Regions from separate parts of the Homo sapiens genome. Here all the other regions are linked to region 1. Evidence: promoter capture Hi-C in 16 types of primary human blood cells and fetal thymus (Javierre and others, 2016). All regions are on one chromosome and are shown on one strand. Each heading gives the region's core, a stretch centred on a gene start or on the middle of the fragment in contact. The rest is flanking DNA. Distances are from core to core; before and after follow the strand shown.

Evidence for each region. Contacts are between HindIII fragments. The CHiCAGO score rates a contact against its expected background, and 5 or more counts as called.
Region 2: a contact is called between a fragment that was not itself captured here and the fragment with the promoter of PLS3 in region 1, in 1 of 17 cell types (endothelial precursors). The highest score is 7.2, in endothelial precursors.
Region 3: a contact is called between a fragment that was not itself captured here and the fragment with the promoter of PLS3 in region 1, in 1 of 17 cell types (endothelial precursors). The highest score is 9.2, in endothelial precursors.

Annotation. Positions count from the first base shown.
Region 1 is chrX:115,558,710-115,563,617 of GRCh38, forward strand. PLS3 (plastin 3) reads left to right here and starts at 2,465. Exons shown (of 16, transcript NM_005032.7): 1 at 2,465-2,551. PLS3-AS1 (PLS3 antisense RNA 1) reads right to left here and starts at 4,022. Exons shown (of 3, transcript NR_110384.1): 1 at 3,917-4,022; 2 at 3,695-3,821. RefSeq lists an enhancer at 3,239-4,014. The HindIII fragment of the contact is 4,189 bases long and covers 641-4,829 here.
Region 2 is chrX:115,324,495-115,329,402 of GRCh38, forward strand. No RefSeq gene overlaps it. Among named protein-coding and RNA genes, the nearest start is that of LUZP4, 37 kb to the left of the region's middle. The HindIII fragment of the contact is 425 bases long and covers 2,052-2,476 here.
Region 3 is chrX:115,341,009-115,345,916 of GRCh38, forward strand. It overlaps LOC107985681 (a long non-coding RNA gene), which reads left to right and starts at 2,500. Exons shown (of 3, transcript XR_001755944.2): 1 at 2,500-4,908. RefSeq lists an enhancer at 4,059-4,558. The HindIII fragment of the contact is 3,106 bases long and covers 1,482-4,587 here.

The DNA of each region.
Region 1 (4,908 bases), core at 1,215-3,714:
TAAGAAAACAATCAACTTTGGGTTACTTCGTGAATGATCCTCTATGAGGTAAATTGATGGCATGAAAAATTATAAAGAAATGCTGTTTAAGAGCTTTGAGCCTGAGGATCCTTTCTTCCAGCAAAATGCTAAATTTGAAAAGATCCTTTAGATTCTGGGCAACACAAAGGTAGCTTAGTTACATCAAACTGGCTGGGTATCTTAATAGTATTCATTAAAATGGAGTTCTACCTGGATTATATAGTGGAGCTTGTTAAACAGGAATCTCAGCTAGCATCCAAATAGGTGCTTCTGTGTTTAGGGTGTGTTTTATCTGTTGGAAAGTTACTGAGGCAATGAGAACTAATGCCATCAGCTAGGTACACTGCAGCTTTGAAACTATGGACTATTGCATTTCAATTAAAATGACATTTCTTGACTGAATTCTGACATCCTCAGTGATAGTGGTGAATGAAGACTTTTATCAAAGTATAGATTCTATTAAGCTTTTAAAAAATTTTATTAATTTTTTTTGTAGAGATGAGGTCTTGCTATGTTGTCCAGGCTGGTCTTGAACTCCTGGCCTCATGCAATCCTCCCACTGCACAGCCTCCCAAAGTGCTGGATTACAGGCGTGAGCTACCCTACTCGGACCAATGTAAGCTTTTTTGAATTAAAAACAGGAACTGTAAATAGCATATACGTAGGATTCTTAATATTTTTACTTTAAATTCTAGAATTTGAAAAATAAACTAAAATTGAATACAACGTAATTGAGACAAATATATCTGCACTGGAAAATTTAGCTTACAGAGTCCCTTCATGCTATTGCTCAGTCTGTAATTTTAAGTTTAAGAGCAGGTGGAAGCTCTTCAGCGGTGACCGACAGACACCATAAAAGGTAGAAAACTGAAAAAGCCTATTTCCTGTATCTAAAAATTTTTTGTAAAGAATTCCAGAAGTCACACCAAACCTTTGGCCAATTACTGAATGCTAGAAATCTCATTTGGGAGCTTACTGTAAATGTGTGTGGCAATGCACTGGCTCCATGTTCAATCCAACGCCAACATGTTGAAATCAGTATTTTTGTGCTGGCCCAAACCTGAACCAGTAGAAAATCTCCCATAACAGAAATTCAATGTTTGTGAAAGCATGATTGCCCTCCCATTTCTTTTTCACCTTCCTGTGCCTTTCATAAGTTCTTCCAGTTGGTTAATCATTAATTAATATTTAACAAGGCTTTTTCCTCGTGCCAAGTCCTCTGCTAGTCTAGCCTTTAGGCAATATATGAACTCCCCAAGTTCTTCCCTTTTAAGAAGCCTTGGCACTCACTACGGATTAATTTCTCTAAGGAAATTCATAATGGCAGATGAAATAGGGGTTCCTTTTCAAGAACATTCCATTTTAAAGCCTCTCAGCATTTTTTCCTGGTACATGTAAAATGCGACTTAATTGAACTAATTTTAAATGTTGACAGAACTTTCCAAGCACACATTTCCTCAACAAAATGGTTACGACTGGAACAGGAAAGGGCTTAGACTTTTTCTTCTACAGCTATCCCACAAGTCAGTCTCTTGACCTGACCCTGCAAAATCCCTCAAACTCTGGCTCTCTGAGTTGATTTTGGATATACGATGAACCATAGGTTTGGAATGCAGATAACCTCCACGTGTATTAATGAAAGAGGTCAGCTATGACGTGGAAGCCATCTCCTGGGCAGAGAAGGAGAAGAAATGGCAGTCTGGGGAGTAGTAACATGTCTCCAAATTTTCTCTGGTGAAAGGAGACTGATGAGAATTGATACCCATTTCCGGTCAAAAGAGTGGAACCAATGTACTTCCAACCACCTCCTCTCAACCCCTCTCCGCATGGACAAACATACCAGACAGGTGATGTGGGCTAACAATTTACTTGGCATGAGGCCAAAGGCTTGAGGGCCCTGCCCTGCCCATATTCTTCTCCCTTGACTTCTTAAGGAAAGGAATGATTGCTGATGTTTCCCTCTGCACCCTTTGGCACCTGGACTGATTGTTGCAGATGTAATTAGGAATGTTCCCCAACATGCCGTTATTCTTCTCACGATTCTGGGAGAAACTGTACCCCTCCCCCATAGACTTATATAGGTGGCATTCAAATTCTTGTTCCCAACTTTTTCATCTTTTTATTAATCCCACAAGATTGTGTGAATGTGTACTCCGAGCCAGGCACGTTGGACTTCTAACTTCCTCTTAGCCCAAGTAGGAAGGGGAGACTCAGGCGCTGGGGACCATTCTCCTCTCCCTGCAGCAGAGTTGCAGTCCCTATCCCTCCTGGGTGCCCATCCCCGTGCCTATTTTCCTGGATCCCCACCCAGTTGATGTGACAGGCTCGTGGCCCAATCCCCTTCCTGGTTCCCAGGCCGACTGCTAGCACCACCCGAGCCAATGGCGGCGGCCGAGGGGCGGAGGGGGCTGGCAGGAGGGGAGGGAGCGCTGGCTTTAGAGCCACAGCTGCAAAGATTCCGAGGTGCAGAAGTTGTCTGAGTGGGTTGGTCGGCGGCAGTCGGGCCAGACCCAGGACTCTGCGACTTTACGTAAGTGCTTTGTAGGCGCCGGCGGGCACTAGGGGAGCGGGTTTCCTGGGCGTGGGCAGGAGTGGGTCCCGGGGAGAGCATCTCGGTTAAGCTCAGCAGGAACGTGCGGCGCACCGTGGGGCGGGGGTTGGGGGAGAGGGAGGTCGGAGAAATTTCAGTTGGAGCCCTCGGGCGCCCGGGCGATCGGTCGCAACCGAAATGGGTGTGAGTGACGGGGAGTTTCCCTACTAGCATCCGCCGCAGACACGTTTTCTGCACTTCACTGTATTAAGTGGTGTTTTCTTACTAGTTGCTCTTAACTTGTTGCCAGTCTTGGGCTGGAGTCCTAGACGCCAGCCCTTGCCCTGATTCCCCTCCGCGGCTGCGGCCCCGAAGTGGAAAGGGAGCGCACAACTTCCCTCTGTCGTCCTTCTCCAGCTACTGCCATCCCCTCTTCCCTCCCGCCCGGACTCAGGAAATCCCGGAGCCAGCAGCCTGCTACTCCTCCAGCCCCCACACGCCCGCCTCGGGTGACCTGGCTGGCTTAAGCCGACCCTGGGGCTCTGGAGAGGGGGGGCCGTGGCCGAGGGAAGGCACGAGGTTTGGGTTGCCTGCCTTCTGCCTGCTTCCCTCCCTTGTCCTTAGCGAGGGCGTCGCGAACGCACCTAGTCTCCCTATGAGTAAGCACTTTTTTTCCTTTCAGTAGGAGAACATCTCTGGGCTAGTAGGACAGTACCTTTCCGTTCTCCCCTGGCCCCACACCCCCTGTCCTTTTTTCAGCTCCTTTGACTTTGCGGCCCCGGGCGCGCGGTCGGGGCGGCGGCAGTCCCGGACCTCTCCCGACTCTTGGAGAGGGAGAGGCAAAGGGGCGACGGGAGGGAGGTAATAGTCTACCCCCCCGCCCTTTCCCCGCACAGCTGCACTTGCCTGTGTTTACTTTTCTCCACCCGCAGTACTTAAGCGCTGTAATGAGAGGCCCGGGGACGCCGACCACCCCCGCCCTGGCTTCTCGCCAGTCCCAAAGTTGCTGCCGCCGTCGCTGCTCCAGTGTGCTGGCGGTTCCGACCGCCGGGCTCCGGGACGTAAGATGATCCCAGCCCGGGAGGTGGAGTGGGGGTTAATGGCATCTGACTCTAGCCTTATGCGATGCTCCTTGCCTCTCACCTGAGCTGCACGATATCCCCAGTGGTGCAGAAGGTTGAACTTTTGCAGAAGGTTGAGCTTGGAGCTAAGTGGGTTGGAGAGCCTCGCCATTTAGCGTCAGACAGACGGGATGCTGGGGGCGCCCGGCCTGTTAAGAGGGATTGGGAGGAGGGAAGGGAGCCTGGCTAACAGTAGGTAGAAAATGTAGGGAAAAGTAAAAACCATTGAGGGGCAAGCACTTACTCCACTTTGCTGGATGTCACAATGGACTGGGGAGCCTAAACTTGATCCTCGAGATGCAGTTCATGGTGAATTCCAACTAAGTGGCTGGAGCCCCACACATACCAGTTGGAATCACGTGCCCCAAGTCTCTGATGGTCACATGACGTCTTTTTACTTTAAAGCTGGAATGTAATGGTTGAGGCCCATATTCCAAAAACCACCTCTACGTTTGAAAAAAAAAAAGGTGGGGAGGAGTGTGAACTAGCTTCTAATCAAGGAAGTCTACTAGGATTTTGGATGAGGGGACCAGAAAGGGAATTTGGTGCTCAGCTTTTATCCAAAACAAAAACAGGAGCTGTTTTTAAAATAAGGGATTGAAATATATGTGAGCTGGGACATGTATCTCCTCTCTTCTTCAATCTCATGGTTTTTCTAAATTTAAAAAACATCTTACTAATTATTTTCTAGGGAAGTCATCCTATTACTCATGCCTCATTTTGTCCCTGAATACTAGATTTGAAGCTAAATCCCACAAGATAGTGTTAAAAAGTAAGGCTCTGTTCATCTTCCTTGGTCTGGCCTATATTCTAATTGAACTGTTCCCTATTTTAGGCAACTACTTAAAGGTAGTAAATAACCTCTTGACTAAAATTAACCACCAGTTATTTGTGGTTTTCAATTAACTGGATTAGAAATCATGCACAAAAACAGTGGATAGTAAATTTGATACATCGAGTTGGTTGGGTTTTTGCCTGTCAGTGGTTTGGTAGAATAATGAGAGGACACTGAAACAACTTTCCCATATTGACCTATACCCGCCCAAGTGGCCCAAGTTAAGGTTGCTTCTGGGAAAACGTGGCAATTTGGCTATTCAGATTATATATTACAGAGTATAGAAGAGAGGCAGAGGAGCCTCTGAGGTCAGGAGTTTAAAAGCTTTGCTTATCTGAAAAAAAAAGAAAAAACGGACCTGGTTGATGCATATTCAGTCTTGAAAACAACTAGGGCAGAAG
Region 2 (4,908 bases), core at 1,014-3,513, 230 kb before region 1:
CAGCCAGCGGCACTCTGCTTCTAGAGGCAGCTTGAATTCCCTCCATCTTTAAACCAGCAAAAGAAGGTTATGTCCTTCTCACTCTTTGAATCATTCTGACTTATTCTTTTGCTCCCTTTTGCTTTTATCATATGATTAGATTAGGCCAACCCAGATGTATGTTGTTAAAGAAAATAAAGAAAAAGCGAAATTACAACTGAAAAACAATTAGGAAACTAATTACTCAGAGCATTCTCTCCCTTTTCCCCAAAATAAACAGTTTTTGGTCCAGTTGGGTCATGGTAGGAAAAACATTTATAACCAGACTAAAAAAAAAAAACTGAGAAAAAAATACCTGATTTATTTGGACTACTAAGTACAGCAACTCAACTGACAATGTCAGAATCACCACACAGCATTTGGGCTTTTGTTGTATTTTACCTCTAACAGAATGTGACTACATGTGATAAACATATTCCCTTGAAATATCTAACTACCCATTAAAAAAAAGTCTTCAGCCAGGTCCTATGGCTCATGCCTGTAATCCCAACACTTTGGGATCCCAAGGTGGGCTGATTGCTCGTGCCCAGGAGTTTGAGACCAGCTGAGTAACATGGTCAAATCCCGTCTCTACTAAAAATACAAAACATTAGCGGGCTGTGGTGACGTGTGCCTGTAGTCCCAGCTACTTGGGAGGCTGAGGTGGGAGAATCAACTGAGCCAGGGAAGGTGAGAATGCAATGAGCTATGATACTGGAATGAGACCTTGTCTTAATGTCTCAAAAAAAAAAAAAAGAATGAAAAGAAAATAAAACTCTTCTGTACTGTTTATTTATGTGAAGAGCTGTTTTAGTAAGACAAAGTAAGAACCAGGCCCCACTAGCAGCCTTTCAGGAGTCCTCGTGTAGAACATGCCTCTACAATGTGGCAGAAGGAAATTTTGGATAACTGAGCTGCTTTTCATATTAACTGCTATGTAGCCATGTGCTCCAGCTACTTTTTTGGTAACAAGTTTATTGAGATATAATTCTTATACTATAAGGTTCGCCACGTTAAAGTATACGGTTCAGTTAGTATATTAACAGAGTGTGCAACCAATACTATAGTCTAATTTTAGAACATTTTTAATGTCCCCCAAAGAAACTCTGTACCCATTAATAGTCACTCCCCCTTTCCCTCCTTTCCCCCCCTTCTCACAGCCCAAGGCAACCATGAATCCATTTTTTTTCTCTATATGAAGGCTGTAGCTACTTTTGTTCCAAAATGCATATAGGGATAACTATACTTTAAAAATAGTGAGATTGATTTGGCATTTAAACAGTAGAATCTGGGCAGGGTGGCTCACACCTATTATCCCAGCACTGTGGGAGGCCAAGATAGGCTGATCACTTGAGCCCAGGAGTTCGAGTCCAGCCTGGGCAACAGAGTGAGACCCCCGTCTCTACAAACAAAGATACAAAAAATTAGCTGGGTGTGGTGGCAGGTACTGTAGTACCAGCTACTTGGGAGGCTGAGGTGGGAGGATCACCTGAGCCCAGGAAGAAGAAGAAATTTTTTAAAATAAACAGTAGAAAAACTCATCTAGGGATTTTGAAGTAACAATATAAAAAAGACTAGATTAATGCATGCATGCAATTTTTAAAAAAGATAAACGGTAGAAAAACTCACCTAGATATTTTGATGTAATGATTAAAAAAAGACTAGATTAATGCATGTTTACAATCCTTCTGAATGCTGCACTAATACTCCCTGATTCAGAACTTGGAACCTAACTACTAAAAAGGGAGCTTGAAGATTCTTGGATATACCTTCTTCATTTTACAGCTGGTGTTAATGAGACTTACATGAAGTTGAATGGCCCAAAGTTGCTCATCTAATTAGTGGCTGACAAATATATCTTTACTAATTATTATGCTTAAGTGACACAAATGTGAGATATAGGGTTAAAACTTTACTCCTAAGGACAAAATATACTACAACCAAGAGTTTTCTGCACCAGCCCAGAGGAATATACTTGAAATTCAACTTTCAAGCAATGGATAATCACGTGAGTGTAATAGAATTGCACAATAAGCTTGTTCACGTGATATTAAAGAATTCATGTCTGTTTTAGGACTACTTGATGTATAAAAAGGTATCTTTTATGTATCAGAAAAAAATGCAGTTAACTAGATTCTACCTGGAGCCCTTAATTCACAAAGAGTCTCTTCCTGTACTGCACCTTCATGAAGGATACAAAGGTCAAAGAAATAAGCCAACTTCAATTATTTATTTTTAAAACGAACTTCAAGTTGAACGTGGATTTAGTCCAATATACTATATTTGTCCCTCGGTATCTGTGGGGGATTAACTCCAGGACCCCAGTGGATACCAAAACCATGGGTCCTCAGGTCCCTGATATGAAATAACATAGTAATTGCATATAAGCTATACACATCTTCTTGTATACTTTTTTTTTTTTGAGACGTGGTCTCACTCTGTTGCCCAATGTGCATGAAGCTTCCTAATGTAATTTGTGGCAAATGATTTGGAGAGAGAATGTTTCTTCATATCACAAAAATAATACAGGTTAATTGCAGAAATTTTTCAAAATACAAAATACCAAAAATTATCACACACACACACACACGCACACACACACACACACACACACACACATGCAAACTTGTAATAGCTACGTCCGTATTTATTTTACTGCCACTAAGCCTTCTTCCACAGTAAAGCTTTCTACACTATTTATCCAGTTCCCCATTGCTGGATAGTTAGGCCGTTTTCAGTTTAAGTTTTTGTAAATTATGCTTGTGGTGAGTTTTCGTGTACTTATATATTTGCAGTACCTCTTCAATTCATTACATATGATAATTTTCCAGAAGTAAAATTGCTGGATCAAATAGTACATATTTGGAATGCTACAAAGAAGTTGCTGTACAGAAAGGTTGTACCATTTGACATCCCCACTACCAGAATACTAAAAGGCTTGTTTTCTCATAATCTCATTTACAAAGAATATGGGATGGATACATTGCTTTCAATGTCTTGCTTGCTAATGGGTAATTAGGGTAAGGAGCAACAGTATGGCCAGGCGCAGTGACTCATACCTATAATCCCAGCACTTTGGGAGGCCAAGGCATGTAGATTGCTGGAGCCCAGGAGTTCCAGACCAGCCCGGGCAACATGGAGAAACCCTGTCTCTACAGAAATAATAGCCAAGTGGGGCGGTGTGCACCTGCAATCCCAGCTACTCGGGAGGCTGAAGTGAGAGAATCATCTGAGCCTGGAAGGTGGAGGCTGCAGTGAGTGGCGCCACTGCACTCCAGTCTGGGCGACAGAGCGAGAAACTGTCTCAAAAAAAAAAAAAAAAAAGCAAGAAGAAAAAGCAACAGCATAAGGCAATGAGCCCAGCAATATTTCCCAAGCTTCAAATGGTTTTTCCCCCATATGAAACAGCAGCTATATAAGTCACAAACCTCTCCCTCTCTGCCTTGAATAACATCAGAAGTACAACATTGTCATAACAATCAGTTGGACAATGCCGAGAGATGTGCAGTCTAGCTGTTTGGCAGTATGTGAACAGAACAAAGAAACAGGCTGACTGAACTTTCCATTTTTGCCTCATTTGGCACCAATCATAGCATGAATTTTCTGTGTGTGGTCTTCAAACCAGCATTCTCAGCCTCACCTGGGAACCTGCAAATTCTCAGGCTTCACCTCAGACCTATTGAATCAAAACCTCTGGGTGTGGGTCCCAGAAATCTGTGTTTTAACAAACCCTCCAGAAAATTTTGATGTATACTAAAATTTGAGATTATGCGGGATCTTACTTCTTAGTGGTAGTTAAAACTCCTGCCCAAGATCAGGTGAAATTATAGTGCTTACCCCTTGTCTCCATCTCTCCATCCATCAGTCTTTCTGCTTCTTACTTTTTAATGTGCCAAACTCCCTCCCTCTCTCCTGTCTACTATATCCCCACTCTAATACTCTATCCAATAATAATAGTGGATGTTGGGTGACCCTCTGCTTGGCTGGATCATTACCACTCTATCAGTGTAGCCATCTTCGTCTGATCTTAGGGTTCCTAGAGATAGGGCCTATGATGTACTAACAGATTACACTGTATTTATTGGTTCGGGAAAAGGGAATCATGGTACAACCAGAAGTGGCAGAGTTGGGAGATCTCTCTCAAGTCCCAGAGCTCATACTCTTAACCTTAAAAGCACTCACGCCTTTGCTTCATCATTGGTCTCTTTCTGGGATGTTCTTTCCCGCCTTTGCTGACTGTGGATCCTGCCCATCCTTCAAGATGGAGCTCTGTTATGTTAAATGGATTTAAGTGGGGGAAAATAAAGTTTGTACATGGTTTGGCCCTGTTGTGGTTTGATCTCTGGCTGTGCTCTCCTATTTTATTTCCTTCCTGTTTTTATCTCCCACACACCTTCCCAGCCACACCAGCTTCCTTACTATGCCACTAATACAGTAAGCATGCTCCTGCCTCAGAGCATTTGCACTTCCCTTTCCTCTTAGAACACTTTTCACACCTAGGGCAGAGGTCCCCAACCTTTTTGGCACTAAAGATAGGTTTTGTGGAAGACAATTTTATCATGGATTGGGTGTGGGCAGGGGGGATGGTTTCGGGATGATTCAAGTGCATTACATTTATTGTGCACGTTATTTATATTATTATTACATTGTAATATATAATGAATATACTGAATGAATATAATGAATGTAATATATAATGAAATATACAATTTAATGTAGAATCAGTGGGAGCCCTGAACTTGTTTTCCTGCAACGAGACGGTCCCATCTGGATGGAGGTGATGGGAGACAATGACAGATCATCAAGCATTAGATTCTCACAAGGATTTTGCAACCTAGATCCCTTGCATGCACAGTTCACAATAGGGTTCACGCTCCTATGAGAATCTAA
Region 3 (4,908 bases), core at 1,785-4,284, 220 kb before region 1:
CACTTCAGATCTAGAGTGTGCACTGGTTTAAAAAGCTATAAACAGGGCTGGAAACAGTAAGAAAAAAAGATGCTACAGATCTCTGGAGTCACAGATTAGTAACTAAAATAGTGCCTAATACTATTGTCAACAAATACCTTAAGAAGGATGGGAGGGTGAGAAGAAGGGAGTGGTGAATAATGTGTGATTAGGGTAGAAATGGCTTAGAAAAGGAATTAGTAATGTGGCCCAGTCCAGCAAAAGTCAAAGAACTATTGCATATCCAGCACCGAGACACTTCCAACTCCCCCTTATAAAGCTGTCGCTTTCTCACAAGACCCAACTAGTCCTTTGATCTTTGTGTACTTCTCAAGTTGAGGCAGGAATCGAGTTAAAAAATAAAAAAGGATCCCTTTTTGCTTAGAGGGAATAGGACTTTGTAGGCATTATAGAGACATTAGTGGCACTTGGGAGCTCTTCCCAAAGGGACTAGGGTCAGCCCCATCCTGACTAGGGCACCTGAAGAAAACAAGGGAAACTTTAACTTTTAAAAGAGAATTTGCAGAGTCAAAAGATTTTTGATGCATCATTGTGGAAAATTTCAGGGCTTTGTTCAGTGTTTTGTTGACTTTTTTCCTAAAATCAACATTGTCGTCAGAGAAAGTAGCAAATATGGTTACTATATGTCTGTTTACATTATCTTCTGCATTCCCAGAGAGAGGATGTTCTGACTTCTGATAACTGGGCAGAAGTCTGACAAAAAATATTTAGGTGGTAGAGGTTGTTCCATTAGGAAGATGAAAAGACCTCTTAGTTCCATTATTCTGATTTTTTTTTTTTTTTTTTTTTGAGACAGGTTCTCACTCTGTCACTTGGGCTAGGGTGCAGTAGGGGGACCTCAGCTCACTGCAACCTCCACCTCCCGAGCTCAATCGATCCTCCCACTTCAGCCTCGCAAGTAGCTAGGACTACAGGTGTGTGCCACCACGACCAGTTAATTTTTGTATTTTTTTTGTAGAGACAAGGTTTCACTATGTTGCCCAGGCTGATCTCGAACTCCTGGGCTCAAGCGATCCACCAGCTTCAGTCTCGCAAAGTGCTGGGATTACAGGTGTGAGCCACTGCACCTGGTCTATTCTGACTTCATGTCATTTAATTATACCACAATATAAAATCTAGACAGTATGTTGTTTCTCTAAATGGACTTCCTGACCAAGGAGATGGGGCCTGTGCAGAAAACAGGGTGTTCAGGCTTAGATTTTGGTGCAGTTCAGATTAGGAATAGTATAAGCCATTCTGAGGCTCAATCATCCATGGGTAAGTGGACTCTCAAGGTTTTGGGCCTACAGAGCTGAGAGAGAGAACACTTTACCTTCGAGAACCAATTTCTTTGTCTTCTCTCGCCCTACGTGGACAAAGTGTGACCATCCATGAAGACTCTGTCCAGATATGCCTTGCTCTATTTTACACCATTGCCAACAGGTTTCCACCACAGCCCAGCAAGCTTTGCTTTTTTACTTTGCACCCCAGATTGGTTTTTAAAATTGACTCTTGGCCTTTTGCAGTGGCTCATGCCTGTAATCCCAGCACTTTGGGAGGTCGAAGTGGGAGGATCGCTTGAGCTCAGGAGTTCAAGACCAGCCTGGGCAACATGGCGAAACTCCATCTCTACTGAAATTTAAAAATAAATTTAAAAAATAAAATAAAATAGACTCTTGGAGAACACTTCCTGGCACAATAGTCTGTTCCATATTCTGTTGCACCCAATAATTAACTCTTAATAATTGTAGTACAATGGGCTGCTATTTATAGTGACTATTAAAATATCCTTCACTGCCTTTTGCTGTTAAAATGCCTAGAACCCACTTTATAATATTTTAACATGCTTAAACAGTAATATAAAATGGCATCTGCGTATGTTTTTCCTTCTTGAAAATTAATAAAAGAGTGGTTCGCTAATGACTGTGTCTGTACAGAGCAAGACAAGGCTTCCAAAAGGGGCTAACCATCTGTGTATCTACCTTCTCAGTTCTGGTGAAGAATTCTGAGATGACGGGATGAGGACAAGAGAGTTGAGAAGAGCCTGAGAAGGGTGAAATTAATTAGATATCAGGAAATCTCTGGAAGCTCCTTTGAAACCATGCTAGAAATCAATGATATTTGCTATGGGCCAGCCACTGCATCAAAGAGAAAAGAGAGAGTTAGTGTGGACTTTGCAGAAGCACAGCCACATGAAGGGTATTCCACGCAGGGATTTACATGTGCAATTCTGTAAATTTGGGCAAAAAGTCAAGTGACGATGCTATGGAGATAAGTGCTCCAGTGACACATTAAATCACTCTCTGAGAATCTGTTGATTCGGATCTAGTTTCTTTTCGTATTCCAGAATAAAGCTAGAGCAATGCTGTCCTCTTCAATCTCAATATATGTATTGCTTGAAAAACAAGGGAGAATATGAGACCTTTTGCATGTTCACACAGCAAGTACAAGAGAAAGGGGGCAACGTGGATTTTTTCTAAATCATGTTTCCCAGCTGAGGAACAGGCTGGAGCATGAGAGGAGTACAGAGCCATTACAACCGTTTAGATGGGCTTCTCGTTTCAACAGGGTCACACTATCTTCTCCGGAAAGCCCACTTTCCATGCCAAGCAACAGGAGAGGTTTTGAAGGCCAGGGATTTGTTTCTCTTCCTTGTTACCCTTCCCACCCAGGTTGTCACACCATACAAGAGGAATAAAGAATACACTGAGAAATACTGAATAGACCAAAAGTCTGACAAATAACCAAGCATTTTCATAAAAAGAAAGAGTTTGGTAATTGTCAATTTACTCTGGTTTTGCTTCCAGTTGGTTCCCTTTTCAGCTGATTAGCGCAAGTGACTATTGAGAGCATGGAAGCATCTCAGGGTTGAAGAGACAGGAGTCCCATTTTCCACTTCCTGCCCTCTTGGGTAACTCTGCTTCCTCCTGAGCAAAGAGTTAATGAAGACATTGTTGCTTTTTTTTTTTTTTTTTTTGCAAATAAGGAAAGGCAGACACTGAATGTTTATTATTCAGTATGAACATAGAGGCAAAACTAGGAGAAAAAACAGATATGAGGTTTCCAGAACTATGGAATTTTAGGCATATTATATTATCAGTTATCATTTATTGAGTACTTACTATGGACCAGCCACTGCATTAAGCATTTTACATAGTCTATTACATAGTTTAATTTTAAATTTTTATTTATTTACTTATTAGAGTCCCACTCTCACCCAGGCTGGAGTGCAGTGGCATGAAATAATAGCTCACTGCAACCTCAAACTCCTGGGCTCAGGTAATCCCCCTGCCTCAGTCTCCCAAGCAGCTGGGAATATAGGTGTGTGCCACCACACCTGGCTAAAGTTTATTACATAGTTTATTAGTCTTGACAACAGCCCTATGACATAGGTACAATTATTATCCCCATTTTACAGATGAAGAAACTGAGGCTTACAGAGGTTAGGTAACTTTAACCAAGCCTAAACAGCTAGTAAGTGGTGGAAGTGATTCAAATCTAAGACTGTGTTACTAAAAGAGCTGTGTTCTCAATCACTCTGCCACACGGTACAAGAGAGGTGTTAGCTAGAATGCCTTCAGGGGCATAATAATAATTATAGTTAATGCTGTTGTGGAAGGCTTATTATATGGTAGACCCTATTCTAAACACTCACCTATGTCAACTTTAGGCTCTGCATCTCACACTCTATAAAGAAGGTGCTATTATTGGGCGCATTTTACAGTAAGGAAAGTGAGGCACAGAGAGGTCTTAAGTTCACGGAACTAATGAATGGTGGAGCAGGGCTACAAATTCAGGCACTCTGACTCCAAAGATCATCCTCTTAGCTGCTAAGCTATGTTAAGGTAAAATGTTCGTTTCTGTGTGAGGAAGCCCAGTCCACTTCGAGAGTCAGCTTTCTTTGTTAGAAAGTTGTGCCTGCAGCTCTAATAGACTTCTCAGAAGCAAACAGAAGGGTTCAAGAGTCCAGCTGACAGCAGAGGCTCTTGCTCAATCCTTTCCCAGAATGCTTGTCTCCATTACCCTTTAACCTGCATCTTTGAACAAATTGATATATGGGGAGTTCAGCAATGGCAGATCTCAGCTGTGCCTTTAATGTTTGATATGTCTGCTAGCACACCATGTTTTTCATTGGATCTAAAGGAGATCTAATGAGAGATCATTTCCTAGTAACACATTGTCTGCTTTCAACATCACTAGGAAAGCACTTTGCTGCAAACAATCCCTATGTTGGTTTAATTGCCTTTGAAAAGGGGCACAAGAGGGAGCATCAACTCTTCAGAGTTTGGGTCTGATTTCCTGAGGTGTTCCATTTCAGAAGAGGCCCCTGACAACAGGCAGAGAATAAAAACAAGTGTGGTCTAGGGCAGACAGTGTTTTTCAAACAGTTGGCCAAATCTCTCCTGGCAGCCGGGAAGCAGCTGAATCATCAAACACTAGGCCTCTAACGAGATGGAGGCTGGGCTGTATTGAAGTGCATTCCAGACTGACTGTGAAACCCAGAGCTGCTGCTGCTTTCCCAATGCTGGCTCCCTTCCAAGGGGCTGGCCCAGCTGAGCTGCTTGTCAAAGCTTCATTTTGTCTCTTCTCTCTCTTTTTTTCCTCCTCTTTGTGATTTCCCATGTAGCATTTGCCTGCCCTTGGATAGAATATTTGGATGAATTTTGGGGTCACCTCAGGTACAGCCTCTGCTCTGCAAGCTAAAGTTCATGAACTGTGTTTACCTGTTGGAAAGTCAGAATGGCAGAGGGGAAAGGCACTAAGCTAGAGCACTCGGGGAATGGACAAGTGGACAGACATTCTTTTCTGAGAGGCAGGAATGACCTAGACATTCCGAAATTGAAAGCCAGATGTTGGGATAAAACTCTAGACTCAATTTGAATCGTAGGA